Linked DNA regions of Homo sapiens: region 2 is linked to region 1. The links are contacts of gene promoters, found by promoter capture Hi-C in human tissues and cell types (Jung and others, 2019). All regions are on one chromosome and are shown on one strand. Each heading gives the region's core, a stretch centred on a gene start or on the middle of the fragment in contact. The rest is flanking DNA. Distances are from core to core; before and after follow the strand shown. Region 1 overlaps LOC105378671 (a long non-coding RNA gene). Region 2 holds the start of CITED4 (Cbp/p300 interacting transactivator with Glu/Asp rich carboxy-terminal domain 4).

What was found. The method cuts DNA at HindIII sites, captures the fragments that hold promoters and counts their contacts. A contact is called where the count stands out against the background at its distance.
Region 2: the fragment with the promoter of CITED4 here is called in contact with a fragment that was not itself captured in region 1 in 1 of the 25 tissues and cell types used here (dorsolateral prefrontal cortex).

Annotation. Positions count from the first base shown.
Region 1 is chr1:40,149,576-40,155,755 of GRCh38, forward strand. The region is part of intron 2 of LOC105378671 (a long non-coding RNA gene); the gene reads right to left. Among named protein-coding and RNA genes, the nearest start is that of RLF, 8.7 kb to the right of the region's middle. RefSeq lists an enhancer at 3,880-3,939 and a silencer at 4,140-4,279. The HindIII fragment of the contact is 4,352 bases long and covers 2,694-6,180 here.
Region 2 is chr1:40,858,929-40,865,358 of GRCh38, forward strand. CITED4 (Cbp/p300 interacting transactivator with Glu/Asp rich carboxy-terminal domain 4) reads right to left here and starts at 3,435. Exons shown (of 1, transcript NM_133467.3): 1 at 2,126-3,435. The coding sequence starts at 3,199. The coding sequence ends at 2,645. It overlaps LOC124904157 (a long non-coding RNA gene), which reads left to right and starts at 3,456. Exons shown (of 3, transcript XR_007066025.1): 1 at 3,456-4,182; 2 at 5,240-5,467. RefSeq lists silencers at 3,222-3,301, 3,462-3,661 and enhancers at 3,762-3,821, 6,245-6,430. The HindIII fragment of the contact is 13,673 bases long and covers 1-6,430 here.

The DNA of each region.
Region 1 (6,180 bases), core at 3,620-6,119:
GTATCTCCTAAAAATACAAAAATTACCTGGGCGTGGTGGCACAGACCTGTAATCCCAGCTACTCGGGAGGCTGAGGCAGAAGAATCGCTTGAACCCGAGAGGCAGAGGTTGCAGTGAGCTGAGATGGTGCCACTGCCCTCCAGCCTGGGCGACAGAGCAAGACTCTGTCTCAAAAAAAAAAAAAAAAAAATCTTTTCTTCTTCCCACAAAAAATAAAAAAGAAGAATCTTTTCTTCTTCCCATAAAATGATTAATGTAGCTATTGTGTGGACAATTGACTCCAGGAGGGCCAGAATAGAAATAGCTAGTCCCCTAAAAAGGTTACTCCTTAAGTTTAGATGGGAGATATTAATGAATAAAACTAGGGTGATATAGCTGGAGGAAGTGAAAAAAAAAAAAGGTCAGCTTGGGAATATATTTTCAGTCAAGGGCCTGAATTGGATATGGTGAAACCCTGTCTCTACTAAAAATACAAAAATTAGCCGGGTGTGGTGGCACATGCCTGTAATTCCAGCTACTTGGGAGGCTGAGGCAGAGGAAGGAGAATATATATATATATATGGACCCCCCCTTTCTCTATTACAGAGATAAGAAGACTATGTTAGCAGAGTATTTTTGTTTTTTTTTTTTTTGACATGGAGTTTCACTCTTGTTGCCCAGGCTGGAGTGCAATGGCGCGATCTCGGCTCACAGCAACCTCCGCCTCCCGGGTTCAAGCCATTCTCCTGCCTCAGCCTCCGGAGTAGCTGGGATTACAGGAATGCACCACCACACCAGGCTAATTTTTTGTACTTTTAGTAGAGATGGGGTTTCTCCATGTTGGTCAGGCTGGTCTTGAACTCCGGACCTCAGGTGATCCGCCCGCCTCGGCCTCCCAAAGTGCTGGGATTACAGGCATGAGCCACTGCGCCCAGCCGTTAGCAGAGTATTGAAATAATTTAGGTCACAGCATTTTGGGAACACTAATCCTGAGTGCTGGGAGTTCATATTAATAGAGATGAATAAAAACCTATCAGCTCGTATTGGTCAGATAGCTGGAGACAATGCAAGAAGCATTGCAGCTCACCAAAAATGTTTGACCTCCTTAGCCCAGGTAATACTAGATAACAGAATTGCCTTTGACTATGTATTGGCTGAAAAAGGAGGAGTCTGTGCAGTAGCACACATCACTTGTTGTATCTATGTTAATACCTCTAGAGAAGTGCAGACTCAATTTAAAAGAATAACTTGGTTGGGCGTGGTGGCTCACACCTGTAATCCTAGCACTTTGGGAGGCCAAGGTGAGCACATCACTTGAGGTCAGGAGTTTGAGACCAGCCTGGCCAACATGGTGAAACCCTATCTCTACTAAAACTACACAAATTAGCTGGGCATGGTGGTGGGCGCCGGTAATCCCAGCTGCTCAACAGGCTGAGGCAGGAGAATCACTTGAGCCTGGGAGGCGGAGGTTGTAGTGAGCCGAGATTGTACCACTGCACTCCAGCTTGGGCAACAGAGCAAGACTCCATCGAAAAAAAAAAAAAAAGCCAGGCACGGTGGTTGAAACCATGGGGCAGATGTTGCAGTGAGCCAAGATTGCGCTACTGCACTCCAGCCTGGGGGACAGAGTGAGACTCCATCTCAAAAATAAATAAATAAATAAAACTCAAAAGACTAATGGTTATAAGATGTTAGAAAATGGATTCTCTAGGCTGGCACAGTGGTTCACGCCGGTAATCCCAGCACTTTGGGAGGCCAAGGTAGGTGGATCACCTGAGGCCAGGAGTTCAAGACCAGTCTGGCCAAAGTGGCAAGACCCCATCTCTACTAAAAACGCAGAAATTAGCTGGTCGTGATGGCACACCCCTGTAGTCCCAGCTACTCAGGAGGCTGAGGCAGGAGAATCACTTGAACCCAGGAGGCGAAGGTTGCAGTGAGCCAAGATCATGCCACTGCACTCCCGCCTGGGTGACAGAGTAAGACTCTGTCTCAAAAAAAAAAAAAAAAAAAGAAAGAAAAGAAAAGAAAGAAAGAAAGAAAAGAAAATGGATTCTCTAAATGACTTGTTTAGTTGGTTACCCTCAGGGCTAAGTTCATTTTTTCGTTCTGGTCTTCAAGTAATTGTTATTATAATCATAAGTACAGTTTCCATTTTCCTAGTTATCAAATTACTCATGATTCGTGTTTCAGCTTGCTTGTGATCAATGACTAAAACTAGAATAATAATTGCTTAAAAAGTTGCCTTAATTGAAAATAAGTCACACAACCAGAATCAGACCACTAAGTTATACTTTCCTTCTGTTGTTCATAATTAGGCTTTGGCTTCTTTCGGCTTATGAATTAAACATTTCCCCTCTCTGTGGGGCATGACTCTCTAGGAATGAGACTTCCTAGTGATGTGAGATATAACTACTCTCTAACAAATGCTTCTTCCGTAATGCTTTCTTCAAAGATCTTGAAGAAAAGGGGAAAATGTGAAAGAAAAGGAATAGTCTGTCTATTTGGGGCTTCTAAAAGCTTAGGTTTTGTGGAAGATTGACTTTGGAGACCAAGTCACAGAGCATGACCTCTTAATCTTGACTTTTTATTATAGATTAATTTCCTTTCTTATTTTCTTGTACCTGACTCAGATGGTACCTGAGATACAAGACTCCTTGACTGAGTCTATATAAGTCTCCTTGACTGATTCTTGACTGAGATATAAGACTCCTTAGGCCGGGCGCGTGGCTCATGCCTGTAATGTTGGTCAGGCTGGTCTCGAGCTCCTGACCTCAAGTGATCCACCCACCTTGGCCTTGCAAAGGTCTGGGATTATAGGCATGAGCCACCAAGCTCCGCCTTTAGCTTTACTTTTTGATGTTAACATGTGAACTAGTTAGTATAAATTAGAAAAAAAACAACAGGATCATAAGCTTGAATATTCCATTCAAATTGTCTGGTAAAATGAGTAGGGTCCAGGTGAGAGTCAGGGAATTCTTTAACTATGCCTTTAGATTTCACCTTGGTTCATAAACCAAGGTAGGTTCTCCCCTACCAGACACCAGCTACTCACAAAATGGAGCCAGAACAATGGGAGTAGAAGTGGGAGGAGGAAGAAAAAGTAGTTGAGATAATGAAGGATAAAGAGAAGGAGGAGTTGAGGAGGAGAAATTTCAGCAGCTTTTTTATTTCAGAAATTGTTTCAGAGAATCTTTTGTTTTCTTTCTGTAAAGAAAGAACTTTATCAAAACCTCTTTTGGAAGCCTCTAAATGCCATTGAAAATAACTTTTCCAATTGCTCTGTTTTATTTTAGAGCCAGCTTATTCTAATTGAGCATATAAGTAAACTAGATTAGGCATTTCAAAGGCACACCATTTTGGCCATTATAATTTGGAGTCATTGTGAGTTATTCACGAGCAGTTTTCTAAATACTTACCTGAAAAGGCATCATGTCATATGTGTTAACTATAAATCCAGCTGGAGTTTCTAATAGTGGGTCTCTCTTAAGGAGGAAGGTTCAGTTTTAGATGCACAGTTGCCCATAGTGCATCAAAAGACTTAGGGAAAGTTGTTTTGAGATCAAGAAAGTTGTTTTGAGATCCCTAAGACCAAAAGACTTAGTGAAAGTTGTTTTGAGATCGAGTGTGCTGCTTGCGAAAATAGCTCCTCAAGGTGTCACTCTTGAGTCAGTTCTTCTCACATACAAATCTCAATGATACCAACAAACTTGGATGCTTAAGATACAGGGTAATCAATCCTTTATGTGTGCTCACCAGATTAAGCAAGGTTTCCTTTAAATTCTACTTAAGGGATTTCCTGTGAGACTGTTACTTATCAGGAGTGATTAACTCAGATACTCACACTAGACCTTAGTTGCTTAAGGTGACTTTTAGCTGGGAGAAACAGTGTCTATTATCTTCAGGACTTATTTCATCCTTATACAGAGTATTTCATAATTTTGGTCACTCAAGAAGCAAGCTTGAATTTGTCAATTGAACCAAGCCTCAGAACCTGGCTAGCTTTAAATATTATAACATTTTTGCTTAAACCACAAAGATTTACTTCCTCTTTTTAAAAATAAACTGTTTTTCACCTTATCAACATTTTGAATGAGAGAAAAAGTTGTAAAAACTCTAAGGAGTAATTCAAAACAAAAACCTTAACCTCACAGAAAAGTGAAAGTCACAATTTTTTTTTTTTTTGAGACATAGTCTTGCTCTGTCACCCAGGCTGGAATACAGTAGTGTGATCTCGGCTCACTGCAACCTCTGCCTCTTGGGTTTAAGTGATTCTCCTGCTTCAGCCTCCTGAGTAGCTGGCACTACAGGCATGTGCCACCACGCCCAGTTAATTTTTGTGTTTTTAGTAGAAACGGGGTTTCACCATGTTGGCCAGGCTGGTCTCGAACTCCCAACCTCAAGTGATCCACCCACCTCGGCCTCCCAAAGTGCTGAGATTACAGGTGTGAGCCACTGCACCCGACTGAAAGTCACAAATCTATGATCAGCAGAATCTCTACAGAATAACAAATGAAACTCCTATCTTGCAGCAGAGCTTTAATTCTTACTTCCTCCAGTTAGAAGTGTATAGCTGGAATAAAGTCTGAATCCTCATCAAAGCCAAGAGGACTACAACCTGAGAGGAGCCTTACCAGGGATCCCCATTAGTTCTTTTGAGGGTGGATGAACAAAAGTTGTTCATGCTGGTACCAAGATTTTGGCTGTTAGTGAAATGACAGGAATCACTGGAATGAAGGTTTGCCTTAGGTCCCTTCATGGTCGCCAAAATGTCAACCTTAATAATGAAATTCAGGCAACAGTATTAAATATTGAGTTTATTCGAGTGTAAATTTGAGGGTGGCCATCTGAGAGGATATAGACTCCAAAAAGATGGGGTCAGTGCTCTGAAATGGAGAGGTTTGAGGGTGCTTAAATAGGTAAAGTCTGGGGAAGCTTACCAGGATTTCAACATTTTGCATACAAGATTAATGCATAGATACAGCAATTTGATTGATTATATGCAGTGTTTCTTTTGGGGGAAGGGTATATTTCACATTTCACATTAAGGATGTAATAGTCAAGGGGTCTTTTTTTCTTGTTTGAGCCAAGTAAAAGAAAATAGGAAGGAAGTTAATCTATAACAAAAGGCCGCCACGCACAGTGGCTCACGCTTGTAATCCCAGGGCTTTGAAAGGCTGAGATGGACAGATCATTTGAGTCCAGGAGTTTGAGACCAGCAACCCCATCTCTATAAAAAATGCAAAAATTAGCTTGGTGTGGTGGCATGTGCCTGTAGTTCCAGCTACTTGAGGGGCTGAGGCAGAAGGATCTCTTGAACCAAGAAGTTGAGGTTGCAGTGAGCTGAGATCACTGCACTCCAGACTGGGTGACAAAGTAAGACCTTGTGTCAAAAAAAACAAAAACAAAAAAACAAAAATGCCAGTAAACAAGAGGTCATGCTTTGTGACTCAGTCTCCAAAGTCAACCTTGCTTAGGGCCTAACAACTTTTAGAAGCTCAAAATAGACTATTTTCTTTCACAATTTTAAATTAAAATTAAGTAAATAATGCTAGAATTGTAAATTTCATTTAAAAAACAATTCAGTCTTATTAAATATTTTTGTACAAATAGTTATTCCCAATGCTAATATTCATTGTCTATTTATGATTATGTAAATGTTCAGTCTTACTCTCTACTCATGTTACATCTAGACAGATACATGTATATATCAGTGTATACGCATATGTGTGTATGGAGACAATTAAAAAAAGGAACATCTGCCACTACCAAGAAACAATACATGGTTATGCAAGAAAATGCATTTATGCTATCTAAGAGGAAGAGTATGACAAGCTAATTTGTGTTTTCTCTTACCCAAGTGCTTCTGTAGCTCGAACACACTCTACGTAGCATTTCAAAAACAGTGTGCCTATTTCTCTTAAGTAGCACAACCCAAAACCTTCAAGACATTAGGATGCAGTTGTCTTTCATTTTTTTAATGGTGGTAAAATATGCATAAGGTAAAGCTTATCATTTTATCCATTTTTAAGTGTATAGTTCAGTGGCATTAAGTACATTCACATTGTTGTGCAAGCATCACCACCCTCCATCACCGTAACTTTTTCATCTTCCCAAACTGAAATTCTACATCCATTAAACAATAACTCTGCTGGCCTCTCTCTCCCCCAGCCCCTGGCAACCACCATTATTCTTTCTTACTCT
Region 2 (6,430 bases), core at 2,185-4,684, 710 kb after region 1:
TCTTCTCCCCTGTCCATCTGTCTGCTGTCCAACTTGTCAGCAGTCCCTTTTGGAGGGATGCAGGAGGGAAGAGCTCAGCAGCTGGACTCTCTCCTCCGCTTCCCCCTTAACTCTGGAAAGAGGCAGGTGTTGGGGTTTTCGTTGTAATCCCTTCCATATGGAGAGCACTTCAGAGTTTGCCAACTGCTTATCAACCCATCTCTGAATTTGTTCCTTACTAATTGTGAGGGTTATTGCTTTGTAATGTAGCAGGGCAGGGATATTAGCCCCATTTTACTGGTGTGGAAACTGAGGGGAGAGAGAAGAGAATCAGGGAAGTGTTCAGCTCAGGGTCAAACCCTCCTGTACTAATTCAGCCCTGTGGTTTCTGTCTCTGGCCTGGGGTTCTGGGCAAAGCAGCGGGGCGGTGGGGTGGGCAAATGCCAGCCCCTCTGAGCCCAGAGCTCAGGCCAGTCCCTTCCCAGAAGGCTCTCTTCCTTTCTCTCTTCATCCTGTCCCAGAAATCCCATGATCTTAGGGAGACCTTTATTCATTTGCCAAACACCTCCTGTCACCAGCCACATTCCATCCTGGTAGCTTCAGAGCACAGTAGGTCCTGGGAGAACTCACAGGTTGGTGGAGGGTCACATCCACAAAAAAGCCTGGCTTGAGAGTCAAGCCCAGCTGCTGGGGACAGAAGGTCTCAGCCTGGTGTTCCCCTCCAGTGTCCCTGGAATCCATGCTCTCCTAGAGAATGCCCCACCACCGCAGCGTCTCTGACCCGGCCTCCTCCCTGACTTCAATCTCTTTCCCAGCTTTTCTCCCACATCTCAGAAGCACCTAGGGATTTTTCCAGAGTGAACTGCAGAGGGTGGCCAGGAACTCACGCTGGTGCTCAGGACTCTGAGGCCAAATCCTGCCAGGCCTGGGCACACTCCACAACCCTCATGTGTAGAATGAGGACTGTGCTTGCCTCACGAAGTTGTCGTAAAGCCATTCGACCTTTCTTGTACCTTCTAGACACCCCACACCTTCCCCAAACATTCATCGTACTTGTGTGCCTTCCTGCCTTGAAACAGGCTCCTCTCCTAAAAACATATTCATCACTCAAGGCTCTGTTCATCACGTCAAATGTCACCGCTTCCCTGAAGCCTGAACTGACCCCAACCTCAACTATTAATAGCTGAAACTGCTCCCTTCTCTGGGTGTGCCCGCTTGGCCGGTCTATTGTCCTGGCTGTACAATCCCCCCCAGAACTATTTTCTTTTTTCTTGAGGAGTCTCGCTCTGTTGCCAGGCTGGAGTGCAGTGGCATGATCTCGGCTCACTGCAACTTCTGCCTCCTGGGTTCAAGCGATTCTCCTGCCTCAGCCTCCCGAGTAGCTGGGACTATAGGCGCGCACCACCATGCCCAGCTAATTTTTATATTTTTAGTAGAGACGGGGTTTCACCATATTAGCCAGGATGGTCTCGATCTGTTGACCTCGTGATCTGCCCGTCTCGGCCTCCCAAAGTGCTGCTTAGCACTGTTTTCTAGAACTCATCACAGTCTTCCTTGCAGCAAGATTAGTTTGTTTTCAGGCCTATCACCCACCTCCTCCCACCTGGGCTGTGATTCCATGAGAACATGCACCAGGTTGACACAGGGCCTGGAATAAAATCAGCACCAATTTGTAGAATAATAATTGCCGTCACTTACTGAGAACTGCCCAGGTATTTGGCACTGTGCTAAAGGCAGCGTAACTACCTGAGGAGACGGGGACCATCTCCCTCTGGGAAACCGCCTCAAAAATCAGAACGGATGGTGTCTTGGGCAAAGGAGAGAGTCAGGGTCCAAAGCTAGGCTGTCTGAACTCGGTGCCACCCAGCTCCTCTCTGGCAGAGCACCAAGCTCCCCCCACCCTACCCTAGGAGCTGGGAAGCCCAGTGGGTTACCCCACCACCCAGTGGCAGCCTCTGCCCTCCAGGTTGTGACATAACAATTGCACAACCCACGAGATATTTTTGAAAGAAACTGTCGGTTTCCTCTCCTGGGCACTGCTGGGGACTGTGGCCCCCATGCCATCCAGTGTCTTCAGCAACCTTGGGACTTTGGAAGCTAAATATAGTCAGGGCTCGGGGTGATAAGGAAATGAAAACGGCAAGACTGTAAAGTGACCCAGTTTTATTTTGGTTTTGGAGGCCAGACAGGGCATTGCTCCACGGGTTCGGGCTGTACAACCTTCCCCTCCTTGAGGTGGGAGGCCCAGCAACCACAGGGCCCAGGCAGCGGGGTGGGAGGCTCAGGAGATGGTGGCTCTGGGGACCCGATCCCGAGGAGAGAGGGGGCAGCAGGCAGAGGCCTGCAATGGCTCAGATTGGGGGAAGAGGGCGGCGAGGGGGAGAGGACACGATCCAAGAACCAGAGTCCGAAAGCTGAAGCTGGTCCGGTCTCTTTCACTTTACGGCCGAGGCTGGGGTCAGAGAAGTGAAGCCAAACTGTCCTCCCGCAGGAGGCAAGGCCTGGAGGGACGCCAGGGTCCCAGTCCGGTGCCGGGCCCTGCGCACACAGCCGCCGCCTCCACCCTCGCGGAGGGCGCGCGCGGGGCCCAGTCGCTGGGTGCAGGGTCCGGCGGGCAGTCGGGCCCTTTCTCCTCTCCGGCACGCCGGGCGGGCGCCGGCCGCCCTCAGCAGCTCACGGAGCCGGCGGGCGGCGCGGACCCCAAGTCCGAGAAGCAGTCGAACTCGCTCTGGCCCAGGAAGAGCTCGGGCAGCTCGCGCACGCGGTGCAGCCCGAGCTCCAGCTCCAGCGACGTCAGCGCCTCCTCGTCGATGAGTTCGGCGTCCATGCCGCCCAGGGCGTGCGCGGGCGGCGGCGGGGCTGCGGCGCTTGGCGCCGGCTGCGGGCCCGGGGGGCCTCCCGGAGCGTTGGGGGGCGCGGCCGCGCGGCCGGGGTACGGCGTCGCCACAGGCTGCAGGTGCGCGATGCCCGCGGCCGGCGGAGGCACGGCCGGAAAGGGCTGGAAGGAGGACGGCGGCCCGAAGGCCCCGTACGCCAGGGCCCCGGGTTGGCGGGGCGGCGGCGGCCCCAGCGGAGCCCCCCGCGGCCTCAGCCCACTGTCCAGGCCCGGGCCCGCGTACGGCGGCAGAGTCCGGAGCGCATGAGGGCCATGGGCGGCCGCGGCGGACGGCGGCCTCTGCACCAGGCGGTAGCCCTCGGCGAGCATCAGGTGGTCGGCCATGGCGGCAGGCCGGCTGCCTGCGGGGACAGCGCGCGGTGGTCAGCGCCGGCTCCCCCGGCCCGGGCCAGCGGCTGCTCTGCGGCGGGAGACCCGGGCACCGTGCGGTCCCTGCAGCTCGGCCGGGCGGAGCAAAACCAAACCCGACTGGTGCCCCGGCCCAGCCCACTACTGCGCACCTTGCGGCCGCAGCCTGGGGTCACAAAGGCCCGCAACCTGTAGTGCTCCGAAACCTCCGCGTCGCGTAGCTGGGCTCGGCGTATTCTTATACCCAGAGGCGGGGCTTCCCCGCCCTCGGACGCTCATTGGCTGGGCGAGACGCTTCTGGGCGGGCCGCGCACGCCTGCATCTAGGTCTTGGCCCCGCCCCTCCCACTGGAACCCCGCCCCTTGGGACTCCGGCCACGCCCCAGGCTCTGAGCACCGCCCTGGGGCGGGGTATTTGGCACTTTCGGAGGGATTCGGTCTGGCCCTCAGGGCTTCGGAATCGGACTTGGCTGGGGTAGAGCTTGAACTGACCAGAAGGTGGGGTGGGAGGGCCAGAGTTTTAGGCCCCCCAAGAGCTGCAGGATGTCAGGCCTACGCAACCTTTTAACTTTCCAGGTAGAGACCGAGGCTCAGTGGCGGAAGAGGCTTCCTGGAAATACACAGCAAAGCCTTGATCAAAGTGAGACTGCACAGCTACACAGGGCGCATGCACCTTAGCGGTGCAGGGTCCCCGCAGGAGGTCAGCTGTCCATTCCCATAACCCCCAGGAGAGCCTGTTGCTCCCCCTCTAGTTCCCACTGCACCTTGTCTGTTGAAGCATGTACTTAGTTGTTATTAATTTATGGGCACGTCTCCTGAAGGACTTGTTCATCTTCTTCTTCTCAGCACTTGGCCCAGAGCCTGGCCCAGAGCAGGCTTTTAGTAAAAGCTGAGTGAATGAACTAATGATGGAATGAATTGCAACTCTCAGCTGAGCCTCAGTTTCTTCATCTGTAAAAGGTAAAGAACAGCAGCACTGACCCTTTGTGAGGGGTAAGTGAGGGCATGTGTGCACAGTGCCTAGCACAGTGCCTGGTATGTGGTAGATGCTCAAAAGTGTCCCTTAGATGAAAGAAAGGCTATTTAAGTTCTTTTTTTTTTTTTTTTTGAGACGGAGTCTCGCTCTTTCGCCCAGGCTGGACTGCAGTGGCGCTGTCTTGGCTCACTGCAAGCTCCGCCTCCCGGGTTCACGCCATTCTCCTGCCTCAGTCTCCCGAGTAGCTGGGACTACAGGCGCCCGCTACCACGCCCGGCTAATTTTTTTTGTATTTTTAGTAGAGACGGGGTTTCACCGTGTTAGCCAGGATGGTCTCGATCTGCTGACCTCGTGATCCGCCCGCCTCGGCCTCCCAAAGTGCTGGAATTACAGGCGTGAGCCACCGCGCCCGGCCAAGGCTATTTAAGTTCTGTCCCAAAGGGCCTTCTCTTGATAACAGCAATAATAACTTGGACTTTTAAAGTGCTTTACATTCTACAAGTATTTTGTTGGGGGCAGGGCATGGATTATCAGCCCCATTTCAGTGATAAGGAGAAGCACACAAAGAGAAAGTGGCTGTCCTGAGGTCACAGGCAGCCAGAGTTAGCGTGTGAATGCCATGTGTTTTCCAAGTCCTTAGGGCAACTGGAGTCTTTCCTGTGGCCAGGAGACAGCCTCCCAGAACCTTACCCTCCACGCATTTGACACTCTCTCTCCCTTCTCTGACCTTCCCCCGACCTGTGGCATCCTTGGGACTTCCTGGAACTTGGGTTTATCCAGTTGATGTAGAGGGGAGAGCCCTAGAGTGAGAATTCAGGGGCCCAAGGTCTTTTCTTCCCTCTTTCTTCTTATTTTTTTAAATAGAGAAGGGAGCGGGGGGGAGGGGCGGCGTGGGGGAGTGAGGAGGGCCTCAGGCTTATCTCGAATCCCTGGCCTCAAGTGACCCTCTCACCTCAGGCTTCCAAAGTGCTAGGATTACAGGCATGAGCCACTGCGCCCAGCCAGAGGCCCAAGTTCTAATCATATCTCTGCCACCCACAGGTGTGTGACCTCCACCACCAACCAGCTGTGACTGTTGAGTGTTGAGCGGGGAGTATTACTTGATTCCCCAGGGCCTCAGCTTTCTGCTCTGTGAAAGGGAGACGGTGATCTTGCCTGGTCAGCCTGAGAGCTTGTGGGTAGTGATAAATGACCATGGGTGTGGTCACATTTTTGCAAAGTGTAAAAAGCTACACCCTGGAATTTATTCTCCTGAATCTTTCTCTACAGGTAAGGCTTCTCACAGAAATTCTTAAACCTGGCCATGCCTCACACTTATCTGGAGATGTGGGGGGTAAGGGGTGGGTGAGTGGGGGCTTTGATAAAGACGGAAAATCTGCCCAATTTGGGAGATGAAAGTGAGAGGATTGCTTGAGCCCAGGAGCTCAAGACCAGCCTGGGAAACATAGTGAGACCGTGTCTCTACAAAAAGTTAAATAATTAGTTGGGCATAGTGGCATGTATCTGTAGTCTGAGCTACCCAGGAGGCTCAGGTGGGAGGATTAGCTGAGCCCTGGAGGTGGAGGCTGCAGTGAGCCATGATGGCACCACTGCACTCCAGCCTGGGCGACAGAGATCTTGTCTCAAAAAAATCAACAAGCAGGCCAGGTGAGTGGCTCACGCTTGTAATCCCAGCACTTTGGGAGGCCGAGGTAAGTAGATCCCTTGAGCTCAGGAGTTTGAGACCCCTGTTTCTGAAAAAATAAAAAATTAACTTGGCATGGTGGTGTGCACTTGTAGTCCTTGCTACTTGGGAGGTTGAGGTGGGAGGATCACTTGAACCTGGGAAGTTGAGGCTACAGTGAGCTATGATCACACCACTGCACTCCAGCCCGGGTGATGTAGGGAGACCCTCTCTCAAAAAACAAAAAAAAACAAACAAAACAAACAAAAAATTATTCTGCCATCATTGGTCTTAGGTCACCAGCATTTGGGAGCCATTGCACCACCAGATGATTTTCCATTTAAAAAAAAATGTGTGTGTAACTAATGTTTAAGAAGTTCTTTAGGCCGGGCATGGTGGCTCACACCTGTAATCCCAGCACTTTGGGAGGCCAAGGTAGGCAGATCACCTGATATAGGAGTTTGAGACCAGCCTGGCCAACATGGTGAAACCCTGTCTCGACTAAAAATACAAAAATTAGCTGGGTGTGGTAGCACACGCCTGTAATCTCAGCTACTCAAGAGGCTGAG